Regions from separate parts of the Homo sapiens genome. Here region 2 is linked to region 1. The links are contacts of gene promoters, found by promoter capture Hi-C in human tissues and cell types (Jung and others, 2019). All regions are on one chromosome and are shown on one strand. The core of a region is centred on a gene start or on the middle of the fragment in contact, and the rest is flanking DNA. Distances in the headings are between cores, read along the strand shown. Region 1 holds the start of GFRA1 (GDNF family receptor alpha 1). Region 2 has its middle 42 kb from the start of PNLIPRP3.

Region 1 (6,138 bases), core at 2,848-5,347:
CTGATGTCAAATGTTGAACTTTCATGGACTAGAATGAGTTAAAAAAATCTGAATGCTTTTTAAGCAGTAGAATTTTACAAAATGGAGGGCCAAGGAAGGCAATGAGAGAAACAGACAAAATGCTGCATGGAATAAAACTGTCATTCTCATCCTGACTCATCTGTTAACTTATGAAAATACACTTACATCAAGAAATGCCAGAAAATTGCTCACTTCACGTGCTTATGGGTAGATTGAACCTAATTTTGTGGCATTAAAACCAATTTTCTGCTGAGCAACATGTCACAGAGGATTACATGAACCTTTATAATTATCAATAATATTTGATACTTTGATGTCACCTTTCATCCTGAGATCAGTCCCATACACATAGGAACAGATAAGCTCCAAGGAAACAGAGATGATATTAATACATTAAGTCACAATGCTTTTCTGTCTTCGATATTCCAAGGGCAGTGTGTTTCTCTCACCTTTAGAAGTTAGTGGATGTAGGCCGGGCGTGGTGGTTCACGCCTGTAATCCCAGCACTTTGGGAGGCTGAGGTGGGTGGATCACAAGGTTAGGAGTTTGAGACCAGCCTGGCCAACATACTGAAATCCCATCTCTACTAAAAATACAAAAAAATTAGTTGGTTGTGGTGGTGGGTGCCTGTAATCCCAGCTACTTAGGAGGTTGAGACAGGAGAATTGCTTGAACCCAGGAGGCAGAGGTTGCAGTGAGCTGAGATCATGCCACTGCACTCCAGCCCAGGCGACAGCTCGAGACTCTGTCTCAAAAAAAAGAAGAAAAAAAGAAAAAAAAAAGTTAATGGATGTAGTTGTAAAGCAGTGATTTTTTTAATTATTATTTTTATTAGCTCCTACTACGGGAAGTCTTAGGCTACAGTATGGGCCACATCTTTCTGTTCACAGCTTTCCTTGGAAGATCAGCTTTTGACATATAGATTCTCCTACTCCCTGGCTTCTTTGCCTGCTGATCTCATCCTGACATACCAGAAGTGGGCTGTGTCTTCATCGATTCTTTGACTTCTACAAGAGACTAACAAGGCATCATCATCATCATCATCATCATCATCATCATTATCCTTCCAACTACAACCCCCAGTACTGCTGCTGCTTATGAAGTAAGCACTCTATGCACTATTCTACTATTCTAAAAACTTTATATATGTGTATATACCACATTAACTAATTCCACACCAACATTATAGGGTAGTGCTGTCCAGTAGAGCTTGCTGCAATGATGGAAATGATCTATATCTGTGTTGTCCAATATGGTAGCCACCAGCCACATGTAGCTATTGAGCACTTGAAATATGGTTAATGCTACTGAGGAACTGCATTTTTCTTTTATTTAATTTTAATTAATTTCATTGACATAGCCACATGGCTAGTGACTATTGTATTGGACAACACAGTTACAGCCTCTGGGGGTTTATTGTTACCTTTTTAAAAACAAAGCTCTGTATTCATCAGCAGCACAAACTTAATAAGGACAAGTGTGAGTGAATGGTTCAGAAATACATTATTGAAGCTAAAAATACAGATGATCCTTGACTTCCAATGAGGCTTATGCTCTGATAAACTCATCAAAAGTTGAGAACATCATAGGTTGAAAATGCATTTAATACACTTAAACTACCAAGCATCACAGCCTAGCCTAGCCTACCTTAAACATGCTCAAAACACTTACATTAGCCGGCAGTTGGGGAAAATTATCTAACACAAAGCTATTTTATAGTAAAGTGTTGACTATCTCATGAAACTTATTCAATACTAACCTGACAGTGAAAAATAGAATGATTGTATGGTCCATAGTCAAAATACAGTTTCTACTGAATGTATATGGCTTTTGCACCATGGTAAAGTCTAAAAATATAAGTAGAAGCATCATAAGTTGGAGATCATCTGTATTTTAAAAAGAAGTCCCATATTCTACACTGGGAGAGCTTTTAGTTCACCCTTCCCCCACCCTGTTAAAATTTGATTCAAAAGAATTCCGTGGAATATATAGGGTAACATGAAGTCATTTCTAAACAAAGAACATTTACAAAAGATGTGGATGATGTCTTAAACCTCATTGTAATCCAACTATCCCAAGTAATCAGCACCGGTAAGCACTAGTCCCTCTATTGAAAATTGAAATTCCAATTACTGATTTTCCAAAAGAAGACATTCTCCTCCACTTACGAAATGGAACAATGAAAGAGGATTTTCTGTTTGGGGTGACCGGGGAGAAACGGAGTCTTCACACAAAGTCTTAGTTCATATTCAGCCCTCCTTTCCTTGAAACCACATCCCCAGGATTTATCTGGCTTGTTTGTGAAAATATGGGAAAACATTTTAAGTCGAAGAAACTGATCAGATGACTTAATTACATTTCTGCTTAGTTCAGCCTGTAACTTAGACTGTTAGAGAGAGAGAACTTAAGTAGCCCTTGGTTTGAACCATCTGTCGCGAAAATGTGACATATGTTTGCTTTGTTTACTCAACAACCAAGTGTAAACTGATACACTGAACTAGAGTATCCCTGAATGATGTGGCTATGGGTGTGTGTGTGTTGGAGGAGGGGTGTCTGATGAGGGCGTCCGTCTCCTCATACTTACCCTGGAGGAACACGCGTACAGCACAAGAGAAGTGCGGATCCGTAGGATGTCCCCCGGGTTTGGGGCGCGCCCCGAGGCGCAGACCCTCTTTGGCGACTCCACACAATATGCAGCCCGCCTGCAAGCAGCCGCTGCAGCCGAGGGGCGCGCCTGGCTGATGTGTGGTTGAATGGAGAGCGGCCCAACCCTCCTCCTTCCTCCTCTTCTTCTCCCCGCCCTGACACCCGGGCCTCAAACTTCAACCAAAGCCCGTGCCCTTTTCAATTTACCCCCCTCGATCAAAATGAGCCATTCTTGTCTGTCCTCCGCGGCGGCCCATTGTCTGGCGTGATAGGTTTGCAGATTTGACAGCTGGGCGCACGCAGATTTGATTCAAACTCGGTCTCCCCGAGAGATGAACTTGGACATCAGCAAAGATCCCGAGCACTGCCGGCTGGCTCCTAGACCGGTCTCCCGACCCAGTGTAGACTTCGGTGCCCCGGGCGCCCCCCGGCGTGCGGGAAGGGGAGCGTGTGTCAGGCGTGGGGGGCGGGGGGTGAGCAGCACGACTGGGAACCAGCGGTCCCAGGGGTTGGGGCGAAGGGCTGTGTACATGTTAGGCTTTTTTTGTTGTTGTTAATTTACTCTCGAAACAGCCAAAATGGAGGTCAGCTTATAAATTTTCTAAAGCCAGGTCTGGCCGGGTTTAAATGCAGTGGGCTGGGGGCTCCGCTTTTGTCTCCTTGTCGGAGCTCCAGGAGAGAGGTAGAGACTGCGTGTGCATGTGTGCGTGTGAGTGTGAGTGTGCACGCGCTGGCGTGGACGAACGGATGGGCGCATCCCAGGATCGCCGCTCCAGCGTCCTGGGTCTGAGTGTGTCTTGAAAGCACCAAGTCTTGAATCACAGCCACTAGTGACGTGGGGGAAAACTTTGTGTTCCGAAGAAGGGTCTGGCTCGATTGCCCTAAGAAGAAAGAGCCCTTGTGCCCGTGTATGTGTGTGTGTGTGTCTGTGTGTGTGTGTGAGAGAGAGAGAGAGAGAGAGAGACAGAGAGAGAGAGAGAGAGAGAGAGTGTGTGTGTCTGGCAGCACCCGCGGCCGGCTGCAGAACACTGCGTGTCCTGTGCGCGAGTACGGGTCCGGCCGCGGGTCCCACCGCAAGCGGGCGTGTGCAGCTGCGGCTGCCTGGCGGGCGAGCTTAGGAGGGAGCTGGAGCTGCGGAGCGGCGGGAACAGGAGCAGGCCGAGGGTCCTCTGGCCAGAAGAAATCTGGCCTCGGAACACGCCATTCTCCGCGCCGCTTCCAATAACCACTAACATCCCTAACGAGCATCCGAGCCGAGGGCTCTGCTCGGAAATCGTCCTGGCCCAACTCGGCCCTTCGAGCTCTCGAAGATTACCGCATCTATTTTTTTTTCTTTTTTTTCTTTTCCTAGCGCAGATAAAGTGAGCCCGGAAAGGGAAGGAGGGGGCGGGGACACCATTGCCCTGAAAGAATAAATAAGTAAATAAACAAACTGGCTCCTCGCCGCAGCTGGACGCGGTCGGTTGAGTCCAGGTTGGTGGCATTTGGAGTTTTTTTCGTTCTGTTTGGGAACCCATTGCCGCTTCCCGTCCCTCTTCCCCACTCCTTCTTCCCCCCTCCTCCGGCCACCCCTTTCTTTTTGCTGGCGTCTCCCAACTTTAGGGCCCGGGGGGCGCTCGTGGCGCCGGGCTGCACCTGCCGGGGCACGCCGGGACTGCGGGCCGGCGCGCTCGCCCTGGGCTGGGGTGCGGAAGCGCCCGAGTCCTGGGCACCGGGCGAGAGTGTGAGAGGAGCGGACGCCCAGGAGGGAGCCGAGGACGCGCGGCGGGTAGGGGGTAGGGGCGCAGGAACCGGGTTTCAGCCCCAGTCGGGACATCGGTTCCCCCTGGCTTGGCGGCCTCTGGAGGGAGACGAGTCCCGGGGAGAAGGAGGGCGGCGACTGGGGCTAGGGATTGGCGATCGGAGTGGGGAGGGCCGGCGGCTGAGCGAGCTCGCTGGCTGACGCGAGGAGGGGGAGGCCAACTTCCCGGGAGAAGGGGCTCTTTCGGCGCCAGGGCTGGCTAGGGAGCTGCCGCCGCCGCCACCGAGGGCTCGGACTCCAGGCAGCTGCAGGCTCCGCTCGCGACGCTCGGAAAGTACCGTTTATTTATTTATTTGCTTGCGTTCAGCGTCTCGGGTTGAACCCAACAGACACCCCCTTGGACTTTAGGAACCCTCTTCAGACCTCTCCAGCCCTCACCTCCATCCCCGTGTCAGCGGCCCCTGGAAAACACGCACATGCACCCCGACCTGGGTGGGGGTGGGTCCTCACCCCGGTGTTGGAAATTCCCCAAAGGCGGGAACGGGGGAGGGGAGAGGGTTCTGTGGGGGGAGTCTCCGGCGCTCTCCGCTCTCATCTCAAAGCGCGCCCTCCCTTCCAGGTTGGGTCGGACCTGAACCCCTAAAAGCGGAACCGCCTCCCGCCCTCGCCATCCCGGAGCTGAGTCGCCGGCGGCGGTGGCTGCTGCCAGACCCGGAGTTTCCTCTTTCACTGGATGGAGCTGAACTTTGGGCGGCCAGAGCAGCACAGCTGTCCGGGGATCGCTGCACGCTGAGCTCCCTCGGCAAGACCCAGCGGCGGCTCGGGATTTTTTTGGGGGGGCGGGGACCAGCCCCGCGCCGGCACCATGTTCCTGGCGACCCTGTACTTCGCGCTGCCGCTCTTGGGTAAGTCGAGGCCCGCCGCGGGCTTTCTTACCCTCTGAGTCTTTCCTAGGGTCGCTTGCAGCAGCCCACCCCGCCCTCCGCACCAAAATTGGGGCGCGGGTGTGGTGGATGTGGAAGGAAGAAGTGTCTTTTTGGGGAATGGGATCGCGAATCCCCGGGTTAGGGAGGCGGTGGCGGCGCGGCGCTGCCTGAAGCTTTTCGGGCTTGGTTTTGATTTCCTGTGGTTTTTAATGACCCAACTTGGCGGGGGACTAAGAAGCCCTCCAGCCCAGGGCCCTGCACCCCCAGAGAGTCTCTGGGAGCTCGCGGAGCCGCGGCGGGCAGGTGGAGTTGGGGAGCATTGGGGCCGGGAGAGCAAACTTGGAAGAGAAAAGTTTTTCCCGAGTAGCTTCTGGGCACTCTCCGCCCGGCGGACCGCTGACCATGGCTGGCCTGCCCCGCGCCCAGCGCGCGCCCGGTGCCCAGTCCGCCGCCGCACTTCTCCTCGGAAAGCGCCTGAGTTTCAGCCGGGCGGAGCGGGTGGCTGGAGCCGGGGGTGGCCCGGGAGCCCGGGTCGTTGCTCAGGCCAGGATGCCCCGGGGCGGAGGGCCGACGTGCGCGGTGGGCAGCGCAGGCTCTGGAGCAAACCCTTGAAGCCCGCGGGCTGAGCCTGCGCCACTCTTCCTTGCGGGCCCGGGAGGAGGAGAGAGGAGCTGGAATTCCAGGGGGCGGGAAAATGGACTCCCGGATGGTCGAGAGGTGGACCCGCTCCCAGAGCAGGGCGCCCCCGAAGGCTGGTCAAGCATCCCTGACCCGGGCGCGCGCCCTCGCCCGGAGCAGGGGCGG
Region 2 (6,195 bases), core at 3,638-6,137, 110 kb before region 1:
GAAATCACCAGAACAAGCATTTGAGGAAGAAATAAAGGCAGGCCCTTGGTCTTCAAAAGTTAATGGGAGTTAGGCTATTTAAATCTTAGAATATACCTCCTCTCACCGAGGTTATTGAAAATAATTAGGTTCCAGGCCGGTCTAGAAAACCTATTCAACTCATTAAGTGAACCATATTCATGAAGTCTTCTACATTTATTGGATACCTGCTATGTACAAGGCATTTTGATATAGGTTAGAAAGGCAAAGATAAATGAAAATTCTTGCCCCCTAGAGTTCACAATCCAGAGGAGATTACTAATTGTGCCGCCGCTGGATAATACTATAATGCACATTCCGAAACAGTTCTGTGGGGCACAGAAGCATGATGCATTTGCCTGGTGGTAGCAGGAGACACTTGGCACTCTGTGTGTAAAATAGGAAAGAAATGGATATTCCCATTCCAATTGTTTACACCTTCCTGATAGGAAAGAGTAAGTAGTGGCCTTCACTTGGGAAGAAAGGTGGTTAAACATCCCTGGTACCTAGCAAACTCTTCTTTACACCTGTAAAAGAAACGAACTTTCATTGCATTTCTAAACCCAGAGAAATCAGTCCCTAGGTATTCTGAACTGGGAAATATAGCATATGTTAGAGAGTATTGAGTTCAGACAATCCTAGTTTCAAATCTGCTTGAAACTGACAGTGTATTATCTTGGTAGTTTACTTAGCCTTACAACCTCTGTTTTCTTGGCTATAAAGTAGTCATCAATATTCCCATCTTTTAGGTTAATGATGAACATATGAGATGATTTATATACAGTACCTAGCATGAGAGATCAAGGATGGAATTCTGAATTTGGACTCTCTAGTAACAAACATATATGTACTAATATGTACATAGTGTTCACATGTCAGAAAACACACAGAACTTCTCCAGAATCACTGCCAAGTTTAACTGATGCCCTTTGGAAAAATGAAGCCAAATGCAACAAAACTAATCCCACCTCTGACTTCACTGAAGAATAAATCTAGTACCTGTGTCTGAATTGTTCTGTCATTTTGCAATTCCTTAACAGTCTTCAGGAAGAATAACGGAAAGTTCCATAAGCACAAGAACCATGTCTTAGTCACCTTTGGTTCCATATCACAATTATCATGATATCCTGTTTAGTAGGTGCTCATTTTTCACCTTAAAATGTAGCGAGCCGTAATCAAACAGTGTAAATATAAAAAGATTTTACTGATTTGGACATTATAGAGTTCATAGAAGCACCAAGAGTATGTTCTTACTAATATAGTTGAAAATATTTTATTTGAGAAAGAGTAAAATCACTCAGAGATAATCTATTCATTTAAGAAATGAACTTTTTGAGTACATACTATGTGTGAGGCACTGTTCTAGGCACTAGGGATAAAGCAATGAACAAGATACTAAAATCCCTGCCCTCGTGAAGCTTACATTCTAGTCTGAAAGATAGACAGCAAATATGACAAAACTGATAAATAAAAGTAATAAGTACTAAGAAGAAAATTAAAGCAGAAAAGGAAGACAGGAAGTATCAGAGGGCCTACCCCAGGGTGGTGGTTCATGACATGATGAGAGTAAGTCCCAGATTCTGCACCTATTTTGAAAGTAGAAACAACAGGATTTGCCGATATGTTGAACATATGAAGTACTGTCAATTATTCAACGACTAGGAATTCTTACAGTAAACAGAGAGTCCCAATTTCCCTTCATCAACATAATTGCCCTAGGAAATAATTCAGCCACTTAACTCATGAAACAATATGAATTCCGCAGATGTCAAATGATAAAGAGATGGAAATTTTTAAATACAATTTTAAAGGGAACAAATATCTGGTGATAAAGCTGATTGGCAAGTCACTTATCAAAGATCCTAGGTAGAGTGACTTCACTTCATTTGATGGACCAATAACTTACAAATGAATCTTTGAAAACTGAAGACTAACACTTAAAAACAAACTGAAAGTCTATTACTTATAGTTTTTATTCAAAAATAAAGGAAAGGTATTGATTAAACCAATTAAGCTCCTTTATCAAAAGAGGAAACTCATTTTTGGATCCTTTAGACTATATTTCTCTAGGATGCATGTGATATTAATTTGAAAATTAGCACCAAATACATATTTTAAAATTATATATGTACATAAATTTGAACAATTGAAAACTATATACAAATATTTAAATTTTATATTTACATAAATGAAGGAAGAAAGGGAGGGAGGGAGGAAGGAAGAAGGAAGGGAGGGAAGGAGGGAGAGAGGGAGAAAGGAGGGAAGGAAGGAAGGGTCACATTTTTATAAGGATTTGTCATTCTCTTCAATGTCGTACCAGAGAAATCCAGCAGATGGCACTCATATATTTCTCTAAATATGATGCTGAATTAAAAACAGGATTGCTTACACTTTGTATTTCAGACCAGAAAGACTGAATACATCACAGAAGCAAACACATTTCAAAATTTTCTATTACCATGGAGAGATAATGCTTTTAAGGTACTCTAATGCACATTCATAGCTTGCAAGTAACTTACAATTTTCACTTCCTATTCTAGCAGGTGGTGGAAAGGTAGCATTCATAACCATTATCTGCCAATCAACAGTTTGATAATAGAAAGCTGTAAGGGACCATTGAGAGACCTACAAACTTTTCTGTGATGGGATGTGGGATCATTACTTTCTTCTGGTTTATTTCCATTGTTTTTATTGGTTGTTCAACATAGATAGGCTCTGAAATTAGCAAACATAACTACCATTTTTCAGCTAAGTAAACAGGCTCAGAAAGAGTAAGAAATAAGACAGGGTAATTCACCCAAGAAAGATAAACAACAATAAATGAATCCAGTTTCTTTAACTAGAGAATCAATAATTTATATTTAAATCCTTAAGCAATAAATATAGGTTAAATGAACAAGTTAATTGAAACCATATTTCAACACATATTATTGGACACTTCCTATATACCACACACTGTTCCAGGCTCTAAGGGATAAGCGATGTGCAAGATAAAGAATACTCTGCTTTCATGGAACTTCTGTTTTAGTGGTGATAAGTAGAACAGAAAAACAAGAAAGATGTCACAAATTATAAGAAGTATGAAGAGAATTTATAACTAGGATATGTCATAGTGTGACTGCGTGACTACTTTACATAGATTGTTTAAAGGAAGGCCTCTCTGAGGAGGTGACGTTTCACTTGACATCTGAATGACAGAAGCTGACAGCCATACAGAGATCAGGGGGTGGAGCAACCCAGGCAGAGGGAACATAGCTCATGAAATGATCCTAACACCAGAACAAGTTGGGCCTATTTGGGGGGCAGAAAGATCTGTATGGCTGGAGAGGAGTCTACAAGGAGGAGAGCTGGTATGGCATGAGTTCTGAGAGGTAGGCAAGAGCCAGGATGGATGGAGAGATGGATGAAAGAATGGATAGAAGGAAGAATACAAGGAGAAAGGAAATGAGCAAGAGCGCTAAGTTCAGGTTAATCAGATTCTTTTACATGTTGATCTTTCTGGATGTTTTCTATTAGTCACATTCCTGCCTTAGCAAGTACTGAAGAATGAATATAACCTTTATTATTTGATATTGTAAAAAGGTGCCATTCCTCAGGTTATCACTTTAAATATCAATGACCACAGGGTAGTGCTGGAAAAAAAGAAAAAACACACATCTGTAGAAAGTGTAATAAAGCAGGATGAATAGGTGTTACTTTCAAGAGATAGCCAGAAGGCGAATTTTCAATAACACTTGATTTGAGTCTGTTTTATTCTGATTTGCCCCTTTCTTCTCAAGGAGTGTAGAAAGATATTCTTAGTTAATTAAAGATTCATATTTGCTGATTCTGATTAATCGATGTTTTCTGGTACCAAAGGGTGATTTAAATAATTCTTAAATTTCTCTTATCTTCTAATATTTACCTGTTATGTAAGATTTTATTGTAAGCACGTTTTCAAAAGCAATATATATTTAAGCTGTGTTAGAAATGAAACCCAAGCAATTAAACTGTAAATAAAGAGGGCCTCTGCTCTGTGTGACCTCATGCAAATCAGATCATCAATCAAAACCTCAGTTCCCCCTCTAAAAATGGCATATCTGATTGGTCTACAACTAGAATCTTGATAAAGAGCTTTGATTTTATTGAATAAAAAGGCTACTATAAATATAATCTTGATATTTTACTAACGTTAATTGGCTCCAGATTGTAGAGCTGACATTATGCTGACCCTATGACTACCCTCAGGTCACCCATTCCCAGTCAGGAGCTTCTTTGTCTAAAGTCTACAAAAACTGTTTCAACAACCACATCACTTAATGGTGGCTTAAATTTGTAAATACTTTCAGTAATCACAAAGCCATATCCAGAAATATCATTAGTAATTGTATTTGCATCTATTAAATGTAGATTAAGAGGATTTTATTTTAACAAGGTTTTATTTACCAACTAATTAGAATGACAATTTATTACAAGTGTGAAAATAATTAACTTCGAATTATTCAAGTAGTGTAGTTCTTCTGGTTGTAAGAAAAAAATAAAATCATTTTCTCCCACTCAATCAATGGGCCTTGTTTGGAATAGCTACTTATATCAGACATTGTTATTAATTTCACATATTCACCTATTCTTTATTTTCCCAGACATCTGAATTCTGGTGCTGTTTATTTCATAGAGGCCTTTTAAAGACAAATTCACTCTGTATCAAAAGCTGTTTAAATCAGCATTCAATTCTGACAGCTTTGCTCTTGATACTTTTCATAGCAGCAGCTGGGAGACCACTTTACCATCAGTCATGGCTTTTTTTTCCTCCAGTCAAAGTATATGTTCTACGGTAAGCATTGCCCTGCAAAATTTTTTCCTCATGTTTAATAAATGTGACCTTACGTATAATTAACAACAAACAGATAAAATCCTGTTTCTCCCTTTTAAAGCAGGGGAAAGTTATTACTTGATTTCCCTCGTGTAGTAGTCAATGCTGTCTTGATATTAGTCTTTTGCCAAGTGTCAGTAAAATAACAAATAAAGCTTCTTTACTGCTGTGATGATTTGACCATTAGCAAACCAAGAAAAAACTTACTTAACTTGAAAATATAATGTTTAGAAAGCACAAATGCAACTGATTATACATTCCGACCTCAAATATTTTCAAAAGATAACTTCATCCTTTCCATTCTTACATTTTAAAAAAATCTATTGTCTTAAGATAAAAGAGCCACAAAACCCCAAGATGTAATCCCTGCTTCGGGCTAATGACGAAAAATATTTTTTATTTTTAGTTCACATCCTGAAAAAAATTCCCTTGACAGAAAATGTTCTGAACTAGATTCTGAGAGGCAAACATTTTCTTTACTAAAGTTTTTCTGGATGACAAAAGGAGAGAAGAGGGGTCAAAAAAGAAACATAAAAGTTCACCTAAAATAGATCAGCTTCAAATGTTAAAATACTTTTTAGTACATTAAGCAGCTTTTAAATTTCAAATTTTATACTATAAATACTTGAATCACAGAACACCTTACCCTGATACACCCGGCATTAAGATAGTCTCATATTTATTTCTAATCATGTCACTGAACTGCTACTGTTTCCTAGGCTGCAAATAAATGATTTATTCATTATAGTGTGACACAGTTATGTATGATTGATTGGTATAAAATATAAAGGGACTTTGTCCTCCACAGGAGCTTTGAACAGGGCCTGTCCAGTGCATGCTGTCTGTCCATCTGCAGCTACCCAGCTAAATTACTGCTTGCCCTTCTGGTAATGGACTCAGTGGATTTTTTCACAGCATAATTTCCATCCTACAAAAAATTACTAATCCCAATTGACTCTGTTTTAAGGCATTTCTAGATTCCAATTCATTATAATACAATGACCTCTACCTTACCTTAGCCTTTTCAGAATCTCATCATGGTTTTTCAAGTTCCAAGAAAAAAAAAGCAGGCAGGCAATTTTTTGTTTGTTTCTTTTAAAAAACAAACCACTACTATTGACAAAACAATGATAGAATAGAAATCATTCTGATTGTAGATACCTTAAAGCTTTTCTTTACTTTTCCTCCCATTTCAATAATTAGGCCAGGGAAGGAAGAAAGGAATTTCTAGGCCAGTGGTCATGCTCCACATCCTATGATTTTGTCGCTGTTTTTCCCCCAGTGTAATAGCTCCATTAATCAGCAGAGAATTTCGCAGCAAACTG

The links. Contacts are between HindIII fragments. The study calls those that stand out against the background at their distance.
Region 2: a fragment that was not itself captured here is called in contact with the fragment with the promoter of GFRA1 in region 1 in 2 of the 25 tissues and cell types used here (H1 embryonic stem cells and adrenal gland).

Annotation. Positions count from the first base shown.
Region 1 is chr10:116,271,165-116,277,302 of GRCh38, reverse strand. It overlaps GFRA1 (GDNF family receptor alpha 1), which reads left to right and starts at 4,097. Exons shown (of 11, transcript NM_005264.8): 1 at 4,097-4,140; 2 at 5,028-5,313. The coding sequence starts at 5,274. It overlaps LOC107984273 (a long non-coding RNA gene), which reads right to left and starts at 3,294. Exons shown (of 2, transcript XR_001747598.2): 1 at 471-3,294. RefSeq lists a silencer at 3,592-3,886 and an enhancer at 3,095-3,932. The HindIII fragment of the contact is 12,805 bases long and covers 1-6,138 here.
Region 2 is chr10:116,382,558-116,388,752 of GRCh38, reverse strand. No RefSeq gene overlaps it. Among named protein-coding and RNA genes, the nearest start is that of PNLIPRP3, 42 kb to the left of the region's middle. The HindIII fragment of the contact is 3,312 bases long and covers 3,232-6,195 here.